Regions from separate parts of the Homo sapiens genome. Here region 2 is linked to region 1. The links are contacts of gene promoters, found by promoter capture Hi-C in blood cells and fetal thymus (Javierre and others, 2016). All regions are on one chromosome and are shown on one strand. The core of a region is centred on a gene start or on the middle of the fragment in contact, and the rest is flanking DNA. Distances in the headings are between cores, read along the strand shown. Region 1 holds the start of SMCR5 (Smith-Magenis syndrome chromosome region, candidate 5). Region 2 overlaps TOM1L2 (target of myb1 like 2 membrane trafficking protein).

Region 1 (4,715 bases), core at 1,343-3,842:
TTACAGTGTGAGCCACTGCACCCGGCCCTGTACACACTTTCTACACTGCACTTTTTTTCACCAACTTGAAGACTGCTCCAATTAATCCATGTGGTGCTTCCATTCTCTGAGTACTCAGCCAATAGAACCTCCCAGATGTATCTCCCTCATCCCCCTTGGATGGACAGCTAGGGGATCCCGTGTTTTGCTGCTGCAAAGGACATTGCAGTTGGTAGCCTTGTGCAGATGACTTCGGGCCCAGGTTAGAGGGCACATGTAATTTGCATTTGGGTCCATATTGCCAGAAAGCTCTCCAAAGAGGTAGTACCATTTTACCCTCCCATCCCCAACTAGATTGGGCACCTCTTTCCCCATGCCCTCACCAGCTAGGCAGATGCTCTGTGCCAAGAAAACCAAACAGCTGCTTCCCTTACAAATACTCAAGGGCCTGGGCATGTGTGGGGGCCTGAGTCCAGCCTGCACCCGTTACCAACTGCAAGATCTCAGGCAATAGGCTTCACCCCGTGGGGCTCAGTTTCCTCATCTGTAAAACAGTGGTGATTGGATTATGGTGAGAAGTTTGTAGATGCAAATGCCTAGGACAGTGCCTGGAACATCGAGGCCCCAGGTCAGAAGTGGCTGTTCTTACGAGTCTGCATGAGTCTTGTACCCCATGACTGCAGTCATGGGGATGGGGGCCCAGCCCCTAGGATGGATGCTCAGGCCTCAGACCTGTGTTTTGGGAAGGGATGAAGGGAAGGGAAGAGCAATGTGGGGAATTACCAAGGGGAAAGGGTGGGATTAGCTTATCCCAGCTTCCCACTGTGCCAGTGGGGAAACTGAGGCCCAGAGGGGCCCAGGCCTTGAAGTGATTGCAAGTTCAGCAGCATGAAACTGCTCTTTATCCGTGCACTGCTGTCAGGAACAAATGCTGAATGGAGAGTCCGGAGGGTTGCCCAGGCCACTGCAGGACCCAAGCTCTGAGACTGAGGGCTTGGGGACACAGAGCCAGAGCCTTGTCCTGAAATCCTGGAGGGTGCTCCTTGGACAGGACAAAACTTGTATTCTCTCTCTGAGCCCAGCCTCAGCAGAACCCAGAGTCTTCCAGGGCTGAGATCTTGCCGTACCAGCTGCGGTCACAGACCTGCCACACTGGCTTGACCTGGGAGTTCCTTACAGCTGCAGAACCCCTGTCCCACCTGACCCGCTGCATCAAAATCTGCGTCTCACCAGGATGTACACTTTAATGTTTGAGGAGCACTGAGACTCAGCCAGGATGATACTCTACCTGCCTGCAGGTACAGGCCGCTGCTCTATGGGCAGACCTCAACCCTCAGCCCCAGAATGTCCTCCCCAGCTCTGTCGCAGACATACGTGGCTCCCTGGGAGGCATAGAAAGTACAAGACTTGGACCTGGCTCCCCATGAACTGGTGGCCCTGGAAGTTGCTACCTTTTATTGAGCCCCTGCCAGCTACCAAGCACATTATCCCATTTCGTCCCACAACAGCACTGAAAGTTTGCTGTTTAATTTAGAGTATCTTGCAGCTTAGGCACACAAAGCACAGAGAGGTTAAGTAAACTGCCCAAGGTCACCCAGCATATACATATGCAGGAGCTGGGATATGAATCCAGAGCTGACCCCGGCACCAGAGTCTAGCCATTTACAATCAGAGTGGGCATGGGGGCAGATGGTGGCTCCTCTCACCCCTGAAACCGGAGCCCCAGCCCCTATGAGCCCTCACAGTTCATTGGTCTGGCTGTGGTGAATCTGACCTCTCAAAAGCCTCCCTTTCCGGAGCAGAGGCCTGCGATTCTCCATGCTGGAGAGCCCGCCAAGAGGGATTCTCCTACAACTTTCCAGAACACAGCAGTTCTGGGGCCAGGCCAAGCTAGCTATGTACAGCTGGAAGAGGCTCTCTCCCCCAGATGCTGAGTGACTAGAAGCCAAGAGGGAGGGAGTTCTGGAATGGTCTGCAGCAGCTGGAGGTGAGGCCTGAGGGGGCTGGGGCGGGGCCTGGGAAGAGGGGCCAGTGCACAGAGTATTCTGAACCGCAGAAAGTATTCTGTTCACTCTGGGAGAAAAACAAGAGTGTTGTTCAAAACAGCTGGACGCCAGGCCCAGTTGCCCTCGCCTGGTTTTTACTCTTAAACACCTTCGCATTTCATGGCTGTTCCAAAGAGAGAGAAATCAGCCAGTTGTCCATTCAGACACAAGACAAGGCATCAGCCGACAACCAAAGGCAAATATTTTCCGTGGTGAGGAAAGCCTCCCGGGTGGCCCCAGGCCTGCCTCTGGAGCAGTGGCTGGCTGGTGGCTGGCTCTCCCCGAAGGTCGCTGCTTCTGGTCAGCAGACTGCGTGTCTGGGGGACTGGCCAGGATCCGCACCCACCCAGGGAGCGCTGGGGGCAGCGGGGCGGCCATCCTAGGCCCGTAGTAAATGGAAGCTCCCTTCCTGGCATGAGAGCAGCCAGGCCTCCAGGGAGGCCAGGACAGCGTGGGCCCCACAGTTCCCTGTCTTGAAACCCCAGCCCTTGATATCAAAATGGGACCTGTTAGTCTGTTGTCGGGGAGGGGGATTTAACTGCCCAAAGCTCTTAGGCCCTGAGTGAATTTTTTTCAGCACAACAGTAGCTACACACAGTTGAAGAGTGTGGCACATGGCTACATAGGGTTTGTATTTGGTCTACAGATGAAGGAACAAGACCCATGTGGACTTAGGCCTCATTATCATAATTCTGCAGCCCCAGGAGCCAAATCCCCACATGGAAACCCTTAGTAGGTAGCCTGGCCAAGTGGGTAGCGGGAAATCAGTGATGGTAGGCCCTGGGACTTCTCTCTAGTCCCCTCCCCACCCTTTTTTTTTTTTTTTTTTTTTAATAGACGGAGTCTCGCCCTTGCCCAGGCTGGAGTGCAGTGGCGCGATCTTGGCTCACTGCAGGCTCCGCCCCCCGGGGTTCACGCCATTCTCCTGCCTCAGCCTCCTGCATAGCTGGGACTGCAGGCACCCGCCACCTCGCCCGGCTAATTTTTTGTATTTTTAGTAGAGACGGGGTTTCACCGTGTTAGCCAGGATGGTCTCGATCTCCTGACCTCATGATCCGCCTGCCTCGGCCTCCCAAAGTGCTCGGATTACAGGAGTGAGCCACTCCACCCAGGCTTTTTTTTAAGACAAGAGTTTTACTCTTGTCCCCAGGCTGGAGTGCAATGGCGCAATCTTGGCTCACTGCAACCTCCGCCTCCCAGGTTCAAGCAATTCTCATGCCTCAGCCTCCCGAGTAGCTGGAATTACAGGCGCATGCTACCATGTCAAGTTAATTTTTATATTTTTAGTAGAGACGGGGTTTCAACATGTTTGCCAGGCTGGTCTCAAACTCCTGACTTCAAGTGATCCACCCACCTTGGCCTCCCAAAGTGCTAGGATTACAGGCGTGAGGCATCGCACCCGGCCACCCACCCTTTTTTTCTCCCAAGAAAACCAGTTTTCTGAAATTTTCAGGGGGAACCAGGACCTCCTCGCCCATGTCTTTCACCCCTGGGTGCCTGTATCCTGTATTCACCAAAGCCCCACGGGCATCTCCCCGATTGAGGTCCCACCCCTCAGGGCCTAGGACAGGGGGACCAGGGAGGGCCCCCAGAGGCTGGAGTTTGGAATACCCCCTTCTCTTCTCTGGAGCTCAGTTTGCATGTCTGTGAAATGACAGGTGATGTCACCTCCCAGAAGGGCAGTTTGAGAGAAGTAAAATCTATTGAGGCACCTTGGACACAGGAGGGGGTCAGACGGCATCAGCCTTTGAGGGTGCTGCAGTTACACGGCTCCAGCAGTCTGAGCCTTATCAAGACCTTTCCAGATATGAGGGAAGTCCATGCCCAGTGTCTAGCTGGCTGGGGGAGAAGCCCCTTGAGAACCCCCACTCTGTAATGCTAGGCTCTGCATTTGCTTAGGAGGCTGTGTCCCTGTCTCTCCCCTTCTGGGCCAGCCTTGCTTTCTGGGCAGGCCCAGGAGTGTCCCGGGCCCAGCACTCAGAGTCAGCGCTGTCTTTAATCTGTATTCCACAGGCATCCTCACCCCCTCCCCTCCCAGGAGCTAGGAACCTGCCAGGCTTCTTACCTCTCTGCTGGAATCTCCACCCCCCACCAGAGGCTGCCCTCTTGGGGAAGGGGCCCAGCCCTTGAGGCCTGTCTCCTCCAGACTAGCTAAACCACAGAGAGAACTCCATCTCAGGTTCCCAAATAGGCGGTATTCTTCCCCGCCACCAAGCTAGGCAGCTCCTGGCGGCTGGAATGCCCTGCTCCTTTCTCAGCCCACCACTTCCTCCAACCTTCCGTCCTCTGTGCTGCAGCAGGGAGTCTTACCCCACCTCCTTCAGGAGGGAGGTGCTCACGGGTTCCTATGCCTGTGGGTCTCCAGGATTGGGCACGGAGCAGTCTGCAAAATGTCAAGTGAGGGAGAGATCCAGTCAAAGCCCCAGGGGGGCCTCTGAGCTCAGTCAGCTCCTCTGCTGCTCCCCACCTCTTGGGGGAAGGACAGGCTGGGGTTTGCATGGGTGGCCTTTTGGAGAGCAGAGTAATGGGAGCCTACTTGAACTTCCTGCGGCCTCATTCCCTGACTGGGGGCGGAGGGTAGTCTGAGCTGCTGGCCTGGGGTGCTTGGCCGCAGGGGAAGGGGCTGGGAGGGAGGGGTCTGGGTGAGTCTAAGGGAGGGTGAGCCTGAAAAGGGGACGGCAGCACTAAACT
Region 2 (4,715 bases), core at 1,350-3,849, 150 kb after region 1:
GGAGAATTACTTGAACCCAGGAGCAGAGGTTGCAGTGAGCCGAGATCGCGCCACTGCACTCCAGAATGGGCAACAGAGCAAGACTCTGTCTCAAACAAAAACAAAAACAAAGGTAAAAATGACTACATATTGTATGATTCCATTTATATAAAATGTCCAGAATAGGCAAATCTATAGAGACAGAAAATAGATTAGTGATTGCCTGGGGTTGGAAGGGCTGGGGGAAATGGGGAGTGATTGCTAATGGGTACGGAATGATGAAAATGTTCTAAAACTGATTGTGGTAATGGCTGAACAACGCTGTGAATACAATGTTTTTTAAAAAAAACTCTGTGACTATACTAAAAACCACTGACTTGTACATTGTAAATGGGTGAATTGTATGGCATATGAATTATATCTCAATAAAGCTGTTGAAAAATGGGAGAAAAGCTACTAGGAATGTGTTCAATGTAGTATTATTTAAAATCCTTAGCTGGGTGCAGTGGCTCAAGCAGGAGGATCACTTAAGCCCAGGAGTTTGAGACCAGCCTGAGCAACATAAACCTTGCCTCTACAAAAAATACAAAATTAGCCAGGCATGGTGGTACATGCCTGTAGTCCCCAGCTACTCAAGAGGCTGAGATAGGAGTATTGCTTCAGCACGGAAGACTGAGGCTGCAGCGAACCGTGATCACATCACTGCACTCCAGCCTGAGGGACAGAGTGAGACCCTGCCTCAAAAATAAAATAAAATTCTTAAAACTTCTCAAATATAAAATAAAAAAGTGATGATTAAATATAGTATATTGATTCCACTGAATATTATATAGCTATTGATATAGTTTGGATATTTGTCCCCACCCAAATCTTATGTTGAATTGTAGTTCCCAATGCTGGAGGTAGGGCCTGGTGGGCAGATCCTTCATGCCTTGATGATGTCTTTGTGATAATTCTTGCAATATCTGGTCAGTTAAAAGTGTGTGGCACTCCCTCCTCCACTCTCTCTCTCTGTTTTTTGTTCCTGTTTTCACCATGTGAGGTGCCTGCTCTCCCTTCCCCTTCTGCCATGAGTAAAAGCTTCCTGAAGCCTCCTCAGAAGCAGCTGCCAGTACTATGCTTCCTATACAGCCTGCAAAACCATGAGCCAAATAAACCTCTTTTATAAATTACCTAGTCTCAGGTATTTCTTTATGGCAATGCAAGAACAACCTAATACAGCCATTATAAGTAATAATTCTTAAAACCATATAGAAACATTTTGTAATGATGTAAGAAAAAAAAGACACAAAATTGATTTTTAAAAAAACATGCATATGGATAATGCCTGGAAGATAAATGGGAAAAAGTGAAAATAATCAGTGTGTTGAAGTATTTGGCTTAAAGGCAAACTTTAAAAATTTTTTATGTTATTACTGTTACAAAAAGAAGGAAAGAGGATATTATACAGCAAAAGACTAAGAAAGAAAGTGGCAAACTAATGACCAAAACTAAAAGCCAGTTATTTAATTCTTCCATCAAAAATAGCCAGGTATAGCCCAGGCGCAGTGGCTCATGCCTCTAATCCCAGCACTTTGCCACGCTGAGGTGGGAGGATCTCTTGAGCTCAGGAGTTCAAGACCAGCCTGGCCAACATAGCGACCTCACCTCGTGTCTACCAAAAAAAAAAAAAAAAAAAAAAATTAGCCAGATGTGGTAACGCATGCCTATAGTCCCAGCTACTTGGGAGGCTGAGGTAGGAAGATCGCTTGAGCCCAGGAGATGGAGGCTGCAGTAAGCTATGATGGTGCCACTGTACTCTAGCCTGGGTGACACAGTGAGACCCTGTCTCAAAAAAAAAAAAAAAAAGCTAGGTATAGGCTATAGGTTAGTCGTGGTGCCTCATGCCCATAATCCCAGCACTTTGGAAGGCCAAGGCAGGAAGTCCACTTGAGCCCAGGAATTCAAAACCAGCCTGGGTAACACAGCAAGACCTTGTCTCTACCAAAAATTTAAAAATTAGCAGGGCTCAGTGGCACGCACCTGTAGTCCCAGCTACTCCACAGGCTGAGGTGAGAGGATCACTTGAGCACAGGATGTCGAGGCCGCAGTGAGTTGTGATCATACCACTGTATTCTAGCCTGGGGGACAGAGTAAAACTCTGTCTCTTGGAGAAAAAAAAAAAAAAAAGCTAGGTACAAGCTTTCAAGCTGGCCTAAACATAAGTAAGCTTCATTACTTAGTCTGAACATACAGACTTAAGGATAAAAGCCTGGTAACCCCAATATCTCTCAAAAGGCATTTTATTCTGACCAGGCCTCCCTGCTAACTCTCCCTTGTCCCAAAGGAGGTCACCCAGGGTACCCAGCTAGTTAAGGAGGACCAAACTGAGAGCCAGTCTGGACTGGCACAAGGGGAGATGCGGACATAAATGTACACGTGTTTCACATTCCAAAGCCAAATACAATAGGGTTCTAGATCATCTGGGAAATTACTCCTATTCATCAACATAGAAAGGTCACGAATATCAACAGTGAGAACAAACAGGGAAGATTACATTTAAATGTAACCATATTTGGGCCTGGTGTGATGGATTACACCTGTAATCCCAGCAGTTTTGGAGGCCGAGGCGGGCGGATTGCTTGAGCTCAGGAGTTCAAGACCAGCCAACATGGTGAAACTCCATCTTTACAAAATATACAAAAATTAGCTGGGCCTGGTAGCACACGCCTGTAATCCCAGCTACTTGAGAGGTTGAGGCACAAGAATCGCTTGAACCTGGGAGGCAGAGGTTGCAGTGAGCAAGGATCACACCACTGCACTCCTGTCTGGGCGACAGAGAGGGACTCTGTCTCAAAAAAAAGGAAGAAAGAAAAAGAAAAAGAAATGTAACCATATTTAAATATGAAGAAGAGCCCCAACACAAGCATGTATTCCTGTTTATACAATATTCAGGGCTAACAGACTTATCACACACAGGTTGTGTAACTTATTAATGACAATGTGACTTTAAACAGTAGTTCTAAGTGGGTCACCTTGAATAATACGAAACAAAGCTTGCCAAGGGAAACATGCAAATAAGATCAAAATCCAACAGGGAATAGGCATTTTCCTAGCTTTTCGGATTTTTACTGTAGAAAAATAAACACAGTATCTATCTAGTTTCTTTAGCACTAAAAAAACCAACAGCATGAAACTGCATTCTTCAATGGGGGTGGAGTCCAAAGGGACAGGCCCGACATTATTTTCAGCACACTGTACCAAGTCAAGCTGGTATGTGGATAAAGCAGCACAGCTGGGTTTACCATGTGAGTAACGGGCAGAGAGAACCTACCACCCTATGTGGCGCAAACCACATGAGGCCAGCTGCAGAGGCTGTGGAGAGAGGCCTCTCTTTATCCCTTCTTCTTTCCCTCCATCTCTTTCTGAGGCCAGGACCTGCATGCAGACCTTTCTTGATAAAGAACTCAACCTCAATGTGATACATCAAGGGAAACATTCCCTGAAGAACATGGTGGAGCAAATAAACATTTGGCCTCGTGAGAATGGCCACAGAAAACACTAGGGAATCTTAAACTGTCAGTTGGATGACTAGATATTTTATGATATTAAGGATTATGATTAATTTATTTTAGATATGATAATAAGCTGTTGGCTATACTTTTTTTTTTTTTTTTTGAGACAGGATCTCACTCAGTCACTCAGGCTGGGAATGCAGCGGCACAATCTTGGCTCACTGCAGCCTCAACCTTCCAGGCTCAAGTGAGCCTCCCACCCTCAGCCTCCTGAGTAGCTGGGACTACAGGCATGTGCCACCACACCTGGCTAATTTTTGTATTCGTGGTACAGCCAGGGTTTCACTATGTTACCCAGGCCTCCCAAAGTGTTGGGATTACAGGCATGAACCACCACACCCAGTCAGCTATACTTTTAAAAAGATTCCTTATCTTTTAGAAATGCATACTTAGGTATTCATAGATGAAATTATATGATGTCTGGGATTTACTGAAAAATAATCCAGGATAAAAGTGTGTGGGGCTATGGATGAACCAAAACTGCCATGAATTGATAATTGTAGAAGCTCAATGATGAGTATGTGGGGGTTCATTATAGTCATCTTTTTCCTTTTGTATATGTCTGAAATTTTCTGTAACAACAAAAAAAATCAGTAGGAGACAGCATAAAACCATTCATAACTTTGACCCGGCAATAGCCCCCTAAGGAAATAAATAAGGGGGAAGGGGAGAGCTGATTCTGCAAAGATGCATAATTGAGAAAAACACTGCTGCTCCCAACAAACGAGAAGATGGCTAAGCAACGAGGGTACATCAATAAGGCAAAAACGCTACGTGGCTTTTTAAAATGATAAATACTTCAGCCTAGTCGCTAAGTGGAAATCGGCATAGGAATGCTAAGAGGAAAACAGGCAGGATAAAATATTATGTGCATACTAATCACCACAAGGTAAAAATGCATGCTCACATAATGGAAAGGGTCAAAAGAGAACACAGAAGGCGACACCCTCCCTTTAACACTCAGCTCGTTGCCTCCTCTCAGTGAGGGCCCCAGACGGCCCCCGCGTGAGCATGCACACACGAGATGAATTAATTGCACTCTTCTGGGATCTCACAGTCCTCACTTGCTGAGGCTCATCCAGCCCCTATTGCTTGTCTAATGGTTCCTCATGGACCTGCCTTCCCTGATGCACCATGAATTTTACCAGCACACAGTAGGTATTCAATAATGTGTGTCAAACA

Evidence for each region. The method cuts DNA at HindIII sites, captures the fragments that hold promoters and counts their contacts. A CHiCAGO score of 5 or more calls a contact.
Region 2: a contact is called between a fragment that was not itself captured here and the fragment with the promoter of SMCR5 in region 1, in 1 of 17 cell types (fetal thymus). The highest score is 5.3, in fetal thymus.

Annotation. Positions count from the first base shown.
Region 1 is chr17:17,776,937-17,781,651 of GRCh38, forward strand. It overlaps SMCR5 (Smith-Magenis syndrome chromosome region, candidate 5), which reads right to left and starts at 2,593. Exons shown (of 1, transcript NR_024007.1): 1 at 1-2,593. The region is part of intron 2 of RAI1 (retinoic acid induced 1); the gene reads left to right. All of the region lies in intron 1 of LOC124903942 (a long non-coding RNA gene), which reads right to left. RefSeq lists enhancers at 1,820-2,709, 3,599-4,488. The HindIII fragment of the contact is 16,515 bases long and covers 1-4,715 here.
Region 2 is chr17:17,924,045-17,928,759 of GRCh38, forward strand. All of the region lies in intron 1 of TOM1L2 (target of myb1 like 2 membrane trafficking protein), which reads right to left. Among named protein-coding and RNA genes, the nearest start is that of TOM1L2, 46 kb to the right of the region's middle. The HindIII fragment of the contact is 826 bases long and covers 2,187-3,012 here.